Regions from separate parts of the Homo sapiens genome. Here all the other regions are linked to region 3. The links are contacts of gene promoters, found by promoter capture Hi-C in blood cells and fetal thymus (Javierre and others, 2016). All regions are on one chromosome and are shown on one strand. Each heading gives the region's core, a stretch centred on a gene start or on the middle of the fragment in contact. The rest is flanking DNA. Distances are from core to core; before and after follow the strand shown.

Region 1 (4,258 bases), core at 1,089-3,588, 530 kb after region 3:
TATTGAAATAGCAGGCTATTTTTCTTTCCCTGTCTCTAGTCCCTCTCTCTCTCCTCCTAAAAACCACCTCCCAATTAGTCTTCCTAAGATGCGGTTCTGATCACATTGATTCACCTGCACAAAAGCTTCCAGTGAATTCTCATTGCTTCTTAAATTAACTCCTGAGTCTTTGGCTTGGTATTTTAGGCCCTTGGCCTGTCTTCAGGCTGCCATTGCAGTCTTGCTGCCAATTTTGCCCTTATCGTCAGCCCAACAAACGGCCTGCTGTTCCCCAAAAGCGTTCCAGACATTCCTGCCCTCGTACCTGTAGGTATAAAGTTTCTCCACTTGCAGGACCACTTGCCCCTGACTCCCACCCCAATCCCACCTTCTAAGTATCTTTCAAAATGGTAGCTTCAGATGTAGATTCCTTCATGAGAACATCTCTAGTCCTCTAGGTCAGGGTAATTCTTCCCTCTTCTGAACTCTCTGTATTCCCATAGTGTTTCTTTTTTTGATGATTTTTTTCATGTTGTTATCACAATCTGCTTTTGATTAGAGATTTTGTGTATCTGGTTTATTTCTCTAATTATTAAATTCTTAAAGTCAGAGCCAGTGCCCAATATCTTTTCATTTACCCACATCATTTATGACTGTGCCTAGCACACATTTGAAACTAAATAAACATTTAATGGACAGATGGATGGGTGAGTGATTATTGTGACTTCATCCACAACCCCCGCAAATTTCTTGTTCCACAAATATTTCCCCATGTGAATGAGAAATATACTACTTTCCACTTGTCTAGTGCTTTTGCATGGCTTTGAGAAGAATGATTTCATTTGACTCTCACAGAAATCTTGTATGAGTTTTACAAATGAGGAAGCCAGGTTCCAGAGAAATACACATAGCTATCGGAAGTAGCATTTGCAAGCTGCTTATGTTTCATGAAGAATATTCTTTATGGGATATCACTTGCCCCTCTTGATAAATTTGAGTTAGTCAGGCAGCTGATAAATATTTTTGTGTATTTACCATGTGCTAGGGACTGTTACCAATATGGGGGTGCCATGAAGAGCTTTTGAGAATAAAGTCTCCTGGCATCTCTTGATAGCCAAGGTAATCCTTTGGCAAAAGCCTCAGATGTAAGCCATTAGTTTCAGGCCTAGCAGCAGCTGGGGAAGGCTGCAGCATAGCCAGGTAAAGGGGATCTGGGTGAGTTTCCGAAGGGTCTGCTATTGTAATCCTAGTTGGAGGAACACAAGCAGAAGCATGGAGATACAAAACTTTATGATGTGTTAGAAAGGAAGGAATAATCAAATATGATAGCATTTGATTTTAAGTGGCAGCCTGGGGTAAACAAAAATGGAAAATGTGCACCTTGTCCTAATTGCAGTTTATTCATTGTCCTCTGAAATATTTCTACAATACACAGCCGCTCAAATTCAGCAGCATATACACTAACTAGTTAGGTAACTAATTAAATAATAATACATAATAAATTAATGTGTTTCTTTGTGTGTGTATGTTTTTATTTTGAAACAGAGTCTTACTCTTGTTGCCCAGGCTAGAGTGCAGTGGTGTGATTTCGGCTCACTGCAACTTCCGCCTCCTGGGTTCAAGTGATTCTCCTGCCTCAGCCTCCCAAGTAGCTGGGATTACAGGCTTGCACCACCACGCCCAGCTAATTTTTGTATTTTTAGTAGAGACAGGGTTTCACCATATTGACCAGGCTGGTCTTGAACTCCTGACCTCAAGTGATCCACCTGTTTTGGCCTCCCAAAGTGCTGAGATTACAGGCATGAGCCTCCACATCTAGCCAATGTTTTAATAAAGCTGTTTTTATTAAAAAAAAATACAGGGATGCTGAATGGAACTAGATGGTGTCTTCTCCCTTGAGCATCTTGAGTTCTGTGTTGAGGAAGAGGGACAATGCAGTAATAATTCAAACAAATTACTTCAAGGACTGACAAATGCTCTGAAGATGAAGTAGGGCAATGGGCTAGGGAGTGGCCAGGGGTTGGGAGTGGAGAGGATACTGCTCTGTCTGCTCTGTCATGGAAGACCCTGTGGAAGAAGTGATATTTCAGTGGAGGTCCAAGCAATGGGAAGGAGGCCGTCCACCCAACATCCACAGGGAAGCCTTTCTGGCAGAAGGGACCAGAGATGTGGTGATGGGACAGAAAGAAGGCCAGTGTGGCTAGAAAGGAGTGGAGAAGGAGGGAGGAGATGCAGGTGGAGGAGTCCTTAGGGGTTCATGTGGACCTTCTAAGCTCTAATGAATACTATGGATATTTTTCTACTTAAGATGGGCAGTTATAAGAGGGTTTTCTGCAGAGGAATATTGTGGACTTTTTGTGTGTGTTAGAAATACTCTATCTGTGGTTTGGAGGATGGACTGGGGTGGGATGGGGGGCACTGATAAGGCAGGAAGCCACTAGAATGGTACTTGCAGGTAAAATGACTTCTTCAAGGTCACATGGATACTAAGGATCACAGTGATGAGTAGATCTTCGGTCAGCACATTGCCCAAGGTCATGCAGAAGGTCAGTGACAGAGAAGGAGTGTACTATTACAAGGTCTTCTGGTATTTAGGGTGATGCTTCTCCTGGCATATAGGAGAAATACAAACATGATACTTCCTGGGGCTTAACAACAATTGACTGGTTTATTTTTTGTTTTTGCTAATATGGCCAATACAAGGAAAGGGAAGCTGTGTACTTTTCTTCCTTTCTTGTCATTTTGGTTTTGTTTTGTTTTGTTTAGACTTTTTTGTTTCCATGTACTTTGACTCCTTAAGATTTCTATGCTGACTCACTTCTGCCTAATTACAGGGTTTGGGTGGCCATTTTAAACTATTTTTTCACCATGTCAAACTTGTGTTTGAAAAACAATTCCAAGAAAAGGATTTTAGGGCTAACATTTGAATGATGCTTCTTCAAGAATTAAAACTATCCTATACAGAAAATAGGAAAAATCAGTATTAATCTTTAATGTAATCATATCATAGTCTCTTAACTAGAACGAAGATTTTTGAAATGTCTTTAACTTCCTCATTTAAATATAAAATACTTAATACCTAAGTGTTCTGAAAGGAATGAAACCACATACAATTATTAATCACTAACTAAATAAAATAATACTTTTATCTGAGGTTATGAGAACATTTTGTCAGGCTATTTGCATTGTAATTGGCACCGATAGCCCCTTGATCCTGGGATTCGGATAAATCACTCAGCAACTTTATGGAGGATTTCAGGGAGCTCCTCCCCCAGAGGCTGAATAACTCTGGGGCGCTTTTCTTCACAAAGCTGGTTCTGGCCAATTCTTTGTCATTAATTTGTCACCAATTATGTGTCAAACAAGAGGCAAAAAATGGAGGTGAAAAATGATTAAAACCAGCCTGTTCTCAGGTAGCTCATCAAAAAGATGAAGAGTCAATCAGTAGTTGCAATCCAGTCATCCCTTGGTATCTGTGGGGGTTTAGTTCCAGGAACCCCATGGAGACCAAAGTCTGTGCATACTCAAGTCCCACAGTGGGTCCTGCAGAACCCACCTACACGAAAAGTCGGCTCCCTGTATCCTTGAGTTTCTCATCCTGCATCCCACAAACGCTGTCTTCATCCCCATTTAGTCATGGATTTGGAATCCATGGATACAGAAGGCTGACTGTATTTATTGGAAAATATCTGTGTTTAAGTGGACCTGTGCAGTTTGAATCCCTACTGTTCAAGGGACAACTGTGTAAGTTGATACACAAAATGACATTCCACCTATTATGATAGAAATAACCGCAGAAGCACCAGGCAAAGCACCTACCTGGCCCCGAGACTATCAGAGAAGGCTTCCTGGAGGAGTTGGTGTTTGAACAGACACACGAAGGTTGGGCTCATATTTACCAGTAGAGGTGGGGCGGAGAGGAGAGACTAGCACTGCCTTCTGCTTTCATTTGATCTTCAGTGGGGAGCTTTATGAGTATGTTGCACAGATGGTTCACAGAAGGCAGTGAGCTAAGAGTTCTATGCTTGATGTTGGCTATTGGTTTCTCCAGAATGTTAGAAATAATGAGCCATGCCTTAGCACTACACGGTCTATAAAGCGTGTTTTCATACTGAATCCTTGGAAATTAAACTCCAGGTTCACTTTCATTTGTATTTGTATTTTATCAATCTCTTTTCCAATGAAAACTCCCCCTGACCTGAATATGTAGTCACTTTCTCATTTTCCTTTTCCTCTTCTCCAAGTCTTCGTGTTTCTTCTATTTCTTTTTTTCCCTTCA
Region 2 (4,190 bases), core at 268-2,767, 520 kb before region 3:
TGGATTTCCCTTGCTGCTCAATTAAAAGTAGAAAATGCCCCTCCCCCCCCCTTTTTTTTTAAAGACAGTGTCTTGCTCTGCCACCCAGGCTGGAGTGCAGTGGTGTGATCTCTGCTCACTGCAACCTCCGCCTCCTGGGCTCAAGTGATCCTCCCATCTCAGCCTCCTGAGTAGTTGGGACTATAGGTGCGCATGATCACGCCTGGCTAATTTTTATATTTTTTTTGTAGAGATGGGGTTTTGCCATGTTGCCCAGGTTGGTCTCAAACTCCTGTTCTCAAGAGCTCAAGGGATCCACCTGCCTTGGCCTCCCAAAGTGCTGGGATTACAGGCATGAGCCACCATGCCCAGCCTAGAAAATGCTCTTTATCTCTCATATGAGAACTGTCTCTGCTGGAATTTCAAAACAACTTTCTGAAATTTTATGTTATAGGTGTGTGTGTGTGTGTGTGTAGTTCTGTTCTCTTGGATTGAAAGAAGGAAGGGAGTTCTCAGTTTTGGTGTTTCTACAAAGTAATAACAGCATGTTATTTTGATGGCCAGTTTATTTTGACAATGGAGAAAATAGTAAATATGTGGTAGATCTGAAGAGGTCACACTGATTTGACATGAAAAAGCGAAGTTTTACATTTTCTAAGCCTAAAAACAAGAAAGATAATAACAAAATAGTTAATGTAGAAATAAGGTTCTGAAAACTTAAGCTGAAATTTTAGAAACAAGCAGAAAGAACAACGTGATTTGAAATGCTTACTTGGTGCCCTATCGATTAAGAACGAGTATAAGAGGCCCCTTAACTTAGATGGCATTACATCCCAATCAACCCATTGTTAAGTTGATAATATGGAAAGTCGAGAATGCATTTAATGTACCTACTAACCACTGCGGCTTAGCCTAGCCTGCCTTCAGTGTGCTCAGAACACTTACATTAGCCTATGGTTGGGCAGAACACAAGGCCTGTTTTATAATTAAGTGTTGAGTATCTCATGAAATGTATTGAATGCTGCACTAGAAGCAAAAAACAGAATGGTTGTCTGGGTACTCGAAGTACGATTTCTACTGAATGTGTGTCACTTTCACACCACGGTAAAGTCGAAAAATTGTAGGTTGAACCATCAGAAGGTGGAGACCCTCTGTGTAAGGTTCTTGATCTTCATTCAGCATTGACCTTCAGGATGCCTGGCACTGTTCTGAGCACTGGGAATACAGCAGTGAGGAAAACAAAGTCCCTGGACCCATGCACATCTTAGTGGAAGAAACAAAATCGTACATTTGGACTATGTCAGCGGGTAGGAAGACAAGGGACTGGGGGTTGGGGGTGGCTGTATTTTACAGTAGAACGTCTGGGAGCAAGAGGCATGTTTAGGTTTCTTAAAAGGAGATAAAGGTACCTCGATGACTTACAAAGTGAAAAGTCACAGCTATGTTACAAGAGCATATATCCTTTTCAGAAGCTCATAATATTTTGTTGAATAAACACAAGGCTAGCAAAATTCTCACCTAATTTGGCCGAAACAGGAACTCGGTTCTTAAGAGGTACCAGGCGATCCTTACACGTTTTCTCCAGTGGTAATTCACACTTTATGTGACGCCTGAAGTTCTCCCTCAGAATAGAACGAATCACCTTAACAATGTTGGTTTTGCTTTCACTGTCACTGGGTGGGGGGGGAGAGAAAACAGCAGAAGTGTCCACAGTGTTCATCGTGCTTCCATTCCACGCCCGCCTGTGTTCCTGTGCCTTGCACCTGCTGGACCAGGCTGCCAGCCAGCCACCCAGCAGCAGTGCCATGTGGCCTCCCGTACAGAAGGAGGTGAGAATTGATCACTCTTAAGATTTTGATATTTATTTAATCAACATAGTCTCCTACTAGCGGCCTCAGTTGCCTTTTTCGGAGGGTGGGGAGTATGACCCTGATATCATCAAAATTCAGGAGGGCACTAAATATAAATTCCCTTAAGAGACATAATTCTATGTTATTTCTGTTGGTTTTAATCTTTGGAAGTCAGTCATACCTGCAACACAACTGAAAGATGGTTTCTGGCCGTCCTTCTATTTCTGACTTCGTATGGATCAGTTCCCATATGGAATTATTTTCTGTCCCTATGTAAAAGGAAATGGAAACAAGAGTCTACAACTTTGCCCAAAATGCTGTGGTTAAGAACACTTGTAAAGTTGAAATCTCATCAGTTAAGAAAGTCTAATATTCCCAGTCCTGGCTCATTTTCTTCTGTGGCTTGTTCTATGTATGATTTTCACAGTTACAAGAACTGAAATGCCTTTTGGTTACTTTTTACATTTCCTGCTGCAGATTTTCCTCCATCTGAACTGCCTTCACCCTCTCTCTGGAGCCCCTCTCTGGGGAAGAGGAGATTCAGTGGATCCTATTCTTCAACCTCCTTTGCAGTTTTGCCCTTTCCTTGGAAGGAACAGGAGCTGGGGTACTTGAGGTAAAAGAGGCCTGCCCCAAATGTGGTCATTTTCTCGAAAACATAAGCACTTCTGACAAAAGTTAAACAGAAGCCCAGCAGGTCACTGCATGACTCAGCCTGCTGGCCTCTTCTGTCACCAGATACCTGTCACCAAAACAAGGTTACTCTGGAAGGATCTCTGAACATTTTCCAGAGTCAAAGATTTTTTTCTTTTTATATCACCTACAGTACTACCTAACCTTAAGGAATTTTCTGCTATATTCTAAATTTGTAAAAACATAAATTTGTGGATCTTTGTTCTTCTAACACATTTTAGGGTATCAAGGCAGAAAGGAAAATGTTGAAAACTATTGATAGGGAAAATAAGGAAACAATGAAAGGCATTTGGCAAAGAAAAAGCTATCCACCAGCATTTAGTTTCTCCCAGAAGTCTGCTAAGGAACATCAAAACAACCTCTCTTGTCCTCATTTTCCTTGTCTATAAAATAAAAGGCACCAAAAATTATCCCCAAGGTCCTTTCTTAATTTACATTCCACAGTTAAGTCTACTAAAATGCTTTTTCTGGCATCATACTGCACGAAACAGTTACCTGCTGGATTCCCCAGTCTGACTTGAAGCGCGGAGATGGGGATCAACCAGCGGAATTTAAATGGGTCCAAGTCAGTAGAGTTGTGTGCAGGCCGGGAATTCGAGGGCTGTAACATGAAGGCCCACCAAGAAAAGTGTTAGGGAAGCTGTCACTGAGGGAGGATGTGTGCACAGTGAATAGAAGTTTATGTTCTCCCTGTGGGCGAGTCTCCGAGCAGCCATGTGGGTGTTCAGGGCACAGAAGTCAATCAGCTACGCACCCAGTTCTCAAAGACCTCACATGCTAGGGAAGGTGCGGAGGCAGAGTTGTGGTTCAGAAGCAGTTACAGGTCTCAAAGCAAGAACAGCAGCCAAAGCTTCCACGCCCTGACGCTGCCTCTGAATGGTAAACCAATGGCATATGGTATCCACAGCTAGGCTTTGCTTTTTTCTGAGTGAAGGTAAAAGGCATTTGAAAATAAACCAAAGTTTCACAGACTATGTTTATGGAACAAACATGGGCCATTTTCAGGGATATAAAAGTCGATGTTCTATGTAGGCCCCCATATGAGTATTTATCTACTTTATTTACTTATTTATGTATTTATTGACAGGGTCTCACTCTGTCGCACAGGCTGGAATGCAGTGGCATGATCAAGGCTCACTGCAGCTTCCACCTCCTGGGCTCAATTGATCCTCCTGCCTCAGCCTCCCGAGTAGCTGGGACTACAGGCACGTGCTACCACACCCAGTTACTTGTATTTTTGGTAGAGGCAGGGTTTCACCATGTTGGCCAGGCTGGTCTCAAATTCCTGGGCTCAAGCCTCAGCCTCCCAAAGTGCTGAGATTACAGGCATGAGCCACCGTGCCCAGCTGTATATCTTCTTTTAAAACAGACATCTTTCATGGGGAGACTCAGAAACGCTCTCAGTATGTGATGGGGTTAGTTACCCTCAGAGTAAGCAGTATCAGTCAGCCCAGCCTTGGTGCTCAGTGGGCTTTTCAGTTCAACGTTAATAGGAAGATACAGCTATGAAAAGGTAGCTTAAATTAAAATGAATTTTTGCCTTACCAATTTCTTTTTCAGTTTGCAGTTTTCTTTATAAACCAGTATGACGGCTCTCTTAAAAACTAAAGAAAGGAAAAGAGAAAGAAAGTCTTTATTTTATGCAAACTCTTCCAAGGTTAAACTAGA
Region 3 (3,969 bases), core at 1,453-3,952:
CGTGGTGGCTCACATCTGTCATCCCAGCACTTGGGATGCCAAGGTGAAAGGACCGCTTGGGCCCAGGAGTTCAAGAACAGCCTGGGCAACATAACAAGACCTCCTCTCTATAAAAAATAAAAATGACGGGCATGGTGACACTGGCCTGTAATCTCACCTACTTGGGGGGCTGAGGTGAGAGGAGGACCCCTTGGGCCCGGGAGGCAAAGGATGCAGTGAGCCAAGATCACACCACTGCACTCCAGCCTGGGTGACAGAATGACACTCCTCAAAAAAAGAAAGATAGCTATGAAAAAAAATGAAACACCAGGCGCAGTGGCACACGCCCATAATCTCAGCACTTTGGGAGGCCAAGGCGGGTGGATCACTTGAGGTCAGGAGTTTGAGAACAGCCTGGCCAACATGGTGAAACCCCATCTCTACTAAAAATACAAAAATTAGCGGGGCGTGGTGATGTGCGCCTGTAATCCCAGCTACTCGGGACACTGAGGCAGAAGAATCGCTTGAAACCGGGAGGTGGAGGCTACAGTGAGCTGAGATGGTGACACTCCAGCCTGGGTAACAAGAGCGAAACTCTGTCTCAAAAAAAAAAAAAAAAGAAGATTCCCAAGTCTATTGCTCTAATTTATCAATGTTAAAAATAAAAAATGTAGTATTAAAAAAGAAAATGCTTTCCAAAAAAAGTTATGTATCACTGCTATTGAAAATAGCCCAAATATTATCTACCGTTTAGCCTCTTAGCTAAGATTCCCAAATACTGTTTTTCTTTTTAAAGAAATTAAAACAAGATAAAACTATGCAACGGCATTTAAAAGTACTGTCCTATTTGGGCCGTCACAGCAAAAAGCCTCGTATTTTAAGAGGTAAATATTAAAGATACTCTTTAACAATCATAGTATCGAATAAAGTATTGGCACTTTAAGAGTTCATAAAATTTATGCTAATTTAGTTACCAGCATAATTACACTTTTTCTTTTTCTTTTTTTTTTTTTTGTAGACAGAGTCTCACTCTGTCACTGGGCTGGATTGCAGTGGCGCAGATCTCGGCTCACTGCAACCTCCGCTTCCCAGGTTCAAGCGATTCTCCTGCCTCAGCCTCCTAAGTAGCTGGGATTACAGGTGCCTGCCACTACGCCCAGCTAATTTTTTGTATTTTTAGTAGAGACAGGGTTTCACCACGTTGGCCAGGCTGGTCTTGAACTCCTGACCTCGTGATTGGCCCGCCTCGGCCTCCCAAAGTGCTGGGATTACAGGCCTGAGCCACTGTTCCCGGCCATAATTACACTTTCCAAGGCGTACGGGTAGGGATACTAATGCTGACTGTGCAGATGTGTACTTGCTATGTTTGATGTTTACATTAAGGCCTATTGAAGTCGGAGTTTAAAAAGAAATTGAATACATCAAAACCTGTCTTCTTCCAGACTAGTAAATTCAACTACACAGTGAAAATGGAATCTGCTTTTTAAAATCTTGTTTGACACGTGAATGAACCAGCGAGAAATGTTTCCCCCATAATCTTCCATCTCTCGATGCACAGATCTCTCCCTACCATTTGTCTTTATGTCGTGATGGATTAGAAGAGGAGCGAGTAAAAATAAAAGATATTGCAGAATAACCTTTGCCTGCCTACCAACCATCCAATTAGCTCAAGTCCCTAGCTGGCAAATTACCTAGTCAACAATGCCTCAATTATAAACACTACGTGTAACGTGACCACAGATCAACACCCCGTAGGTTCATTTCCCCCACCGCCCCCAATCGGTGTTAGCCTCAGTGAGGACCCGGGAAGGTCTGGAGAGTCATGTCCAGCGTCCACTTAAATCCTCAAAGGCCCAGGAAGGAGGTGGGCGGGCCAGGCCTCGGCGGAACTGACCTCGAGGGACCTGTCGGGAGTCTCCGGGTGAGGGCCCAACCGGGTCTTTCCCTCCGAGCTCGCAGCCATTCCATAGGACGCCGGAGACGCCAGAACCTCCCTCCGCCCCAGGGCGGCCCTCCCCCAACCCTCCTCCCGGACCCGGGGGAGGGGCACCCAGAGGAGAAACACCCCTCCCCCACGGGCACTGCTAGGCCACCGCTCACCCCACCCTTAAAAAACCCGCAGGCCCGCGCCCACCCTCCGGGCCCCGGCCTCGACCAGGGGTGGGGGCGGTGCGGGCAGGAGCAGGGGAACCCGGCTGCCATACCAACCTCGCTATTGAAGGTCTTCACGGCCTCCATGTTGTCGCTGCGGAGGCCCCGAGCCCGGCGGCGGAAGAGGCGGCGGCCACTGCACTGGGTGGGGAGAGCGAGACGCGGGCTGCTGCGTGGCCGCGAGGAGGGGGCGCTGGCGGGAGAGCGGGCCGCTGCGACCTCGGGGCGGAGTGGAAGGGCACGCGCTGGCGGGGAAGGGCTCCCTCAGCGGCAGAGCGGCACCGGCATGGCCGCTAGGGCGGGGGGAGCGCCGTTCTAGGGAACAGAGGCGCTGCCGGGGCGGGTCGGCGGCGGGCGGGGGAGGGGCTGGGCCGCGGCGCCTTCTCTTCTCTGCCCCGCTCCGTTTCGGTCCCCCTCCCTCTAGCCCCTTCCCCTACACTCTCCACTCCCTTCTGCCCCTTCCTCCGACGGGCTCCTGTTTCACCTCCCCGCCGCTCGGGCCGCAGGAACCAGCCCCGCTCGGCGAAGACAGAGGAGGAAGCGCTGGCAGCAGCGGCTGCGGCATCCAATATGGCGGACTCGAGTCGGGCCGCGCAGTTCGGGGATCCGCGGCGCCGGCTAGCGCGCCCCCTGGCGACTGGACCGTGCGAGCCCCGGCGGCCGCGCGGAAACCATCGAGCGCGCTGGGGCCAGAGCGTCGCCGCCCGTAGGCCCGGCTGGGCTCCGCTGCCCTCGCCTTGGCTCCGGGGCCGCCCGCGCCTCGCCCCCTCCCCGCGCCCCGCGGACGCGGGAGTGAGCGCTGCGGCATCCGGGGGAACGCCGCGGCGGGTTTGTACAGCAGGAGGAGGCAACTCCAAAGCGCGGCTCTAATAAGAGCCTAAACGTGCCCAAGAAGCGGCAAGTTGAGGAAATGTGCGCGTTTCCCTTGTTTCCCGGTGGATTGGTCCTTTTGCACAAGCGGCAGGGTTTAGTTGCTTTTCACAACTTTACTGGACAGTGCCCTAAACATCCGCAGCCTTCGCCAAGAAAAAGTTCCTGGTCATCTATTTAGTAACTGAACTCAATTGTTTTAACTGCACAGGGAGGGAACATTAGAAACCAAAGCCTTGGATTCGGGTTGGGGCAGGCGGCGAGGGAAACAGGCATGCAGCAGCTCCTTGCAGGAAATGCCCGCTGCATAGGATCCAGGGACTGGAGTGGCACAATGAGCGCATTTGTCTGCAAGGCGGGAAGGGGACCCTAGAATGCACAACACTTGAATAGGTGAAAAGGGAACCCGTCTGTTTCGGAAGATGAATTGTTCTAAAGGAATTTTGCCCTAGGATACTTGGAGTAAAGGTAAATACAGTATTTCTTAGATGGATTAGGAGATGCTGCTAGTAAAAAGCCTTCTCTCTCGTGCAGCGCAAAATAAGGTACCAATTTAAAAATACTTATCGATGTTAAAAGATAGGGATGTATCGTGGAACCCCGAACACTGCTGTCCTCTTGTTGAAAGTCATTTTTCAACAATCATTCCCAAATTCACTCAAAGGGAGAGAGGAACATAAGGGCAGGATCGTACTTTTGGAGAGTTTTGGAATCAAGGTAGTTCCTAAGAGCTGTGCGCAGAGCCCCGTGAAACTGGGAAAGTAAGGCCCTTCTTGAGGTTTCAGAGCCTTCATTCTACTTCATTGGCAGCTTTAGTATAGGGCCTGGCTACTGAGAAGGTAACAGGGATAACTCACCAAGTGCTTTTATATTTACTTTCAAAATCTCAAATTCTGTCACAGATTTCTCCACCGTCTCCCATCTTCAGGCCTAGCCATGATCTTTTACTGACACTTGCAGTAGCCTCCT

Evidence for each region. The method cuts DNA at HindIII sites, captures the fragments that hold promoters and counts their contacts. A CHiCAGO score of 5 or more calls a contact.
Region 1: a contact is called between a fragment that was not itself captured here and the fragment with the promoter of SCAF8 in region 3, in 1 of 17 cell types (neutrophils). The highest score is 6.2, in neutrophils.
Region 2: a fragment that was not itself captured here is called in contact with the fragment with the promoter of SCAF8 in region 3 in 1 of 17 cell types (neutrophils); the score reaches 7.3 in neutrophils.

Annotation. Positions count from the first base shown.
Region 1 is chr6:154,202,855-154,207,112 of GRCh38, reverse strand. The region is part of intron 9 of IPCEF1 (interaction protein for cytohesin exchange factors 1); the gene reads left to right. It also overlaps a transcript of OPRM1 not described here. Among named protein-coding and RNA genes, the nearest start is that of IPCEF1, 150 kb to the left of the region's middle. The HindIII fragment of the contact is 4,421 bases long and covers 128-4,258 here.
Region 2 is chr6:155,251,881-155,256,070 of GRCh38, reverse strand. TIAM2 (TIAM Rac1 associated GEF 2) reads right to left here. Exons shown (of 27, transcript NM_012454.4): 23 at 4,068-4,126; 24 at 3,018-3,123; 25 at 2,011-2,098; 26 at 1,498-1,652. It also overlaps a transcript of TFB1M not described here. Among named protein-coding and RNA genes, the nearest start is that of CLDN20, 10 kb to the left of the region's middle. RefSeq lists enhancers at 1,140-1,713, 1,714-2,288. The HindIII fragment of the contact is 3,714 bases long and covers 1-3,374 here.
Region 3 is chr6:154,732,149-154,736,117 of GRCh38, reverse strand. It overlaps SCAF8 (SR-related CTD associated factor 8), which reads right to left and starts at 2,702. Exons shown (of 20, transcript NM_014892.5): 1 at 2,188-2,702. The coding sequence starts at 2,217. RefSeq lists silencers at 1,930-2,529, 2,680-2,799, 2,830-3,069 and an enhancer at 2,166-2,669. The HindIII fragment of the contact is 14,602 bases long and covers 1-3,969 here.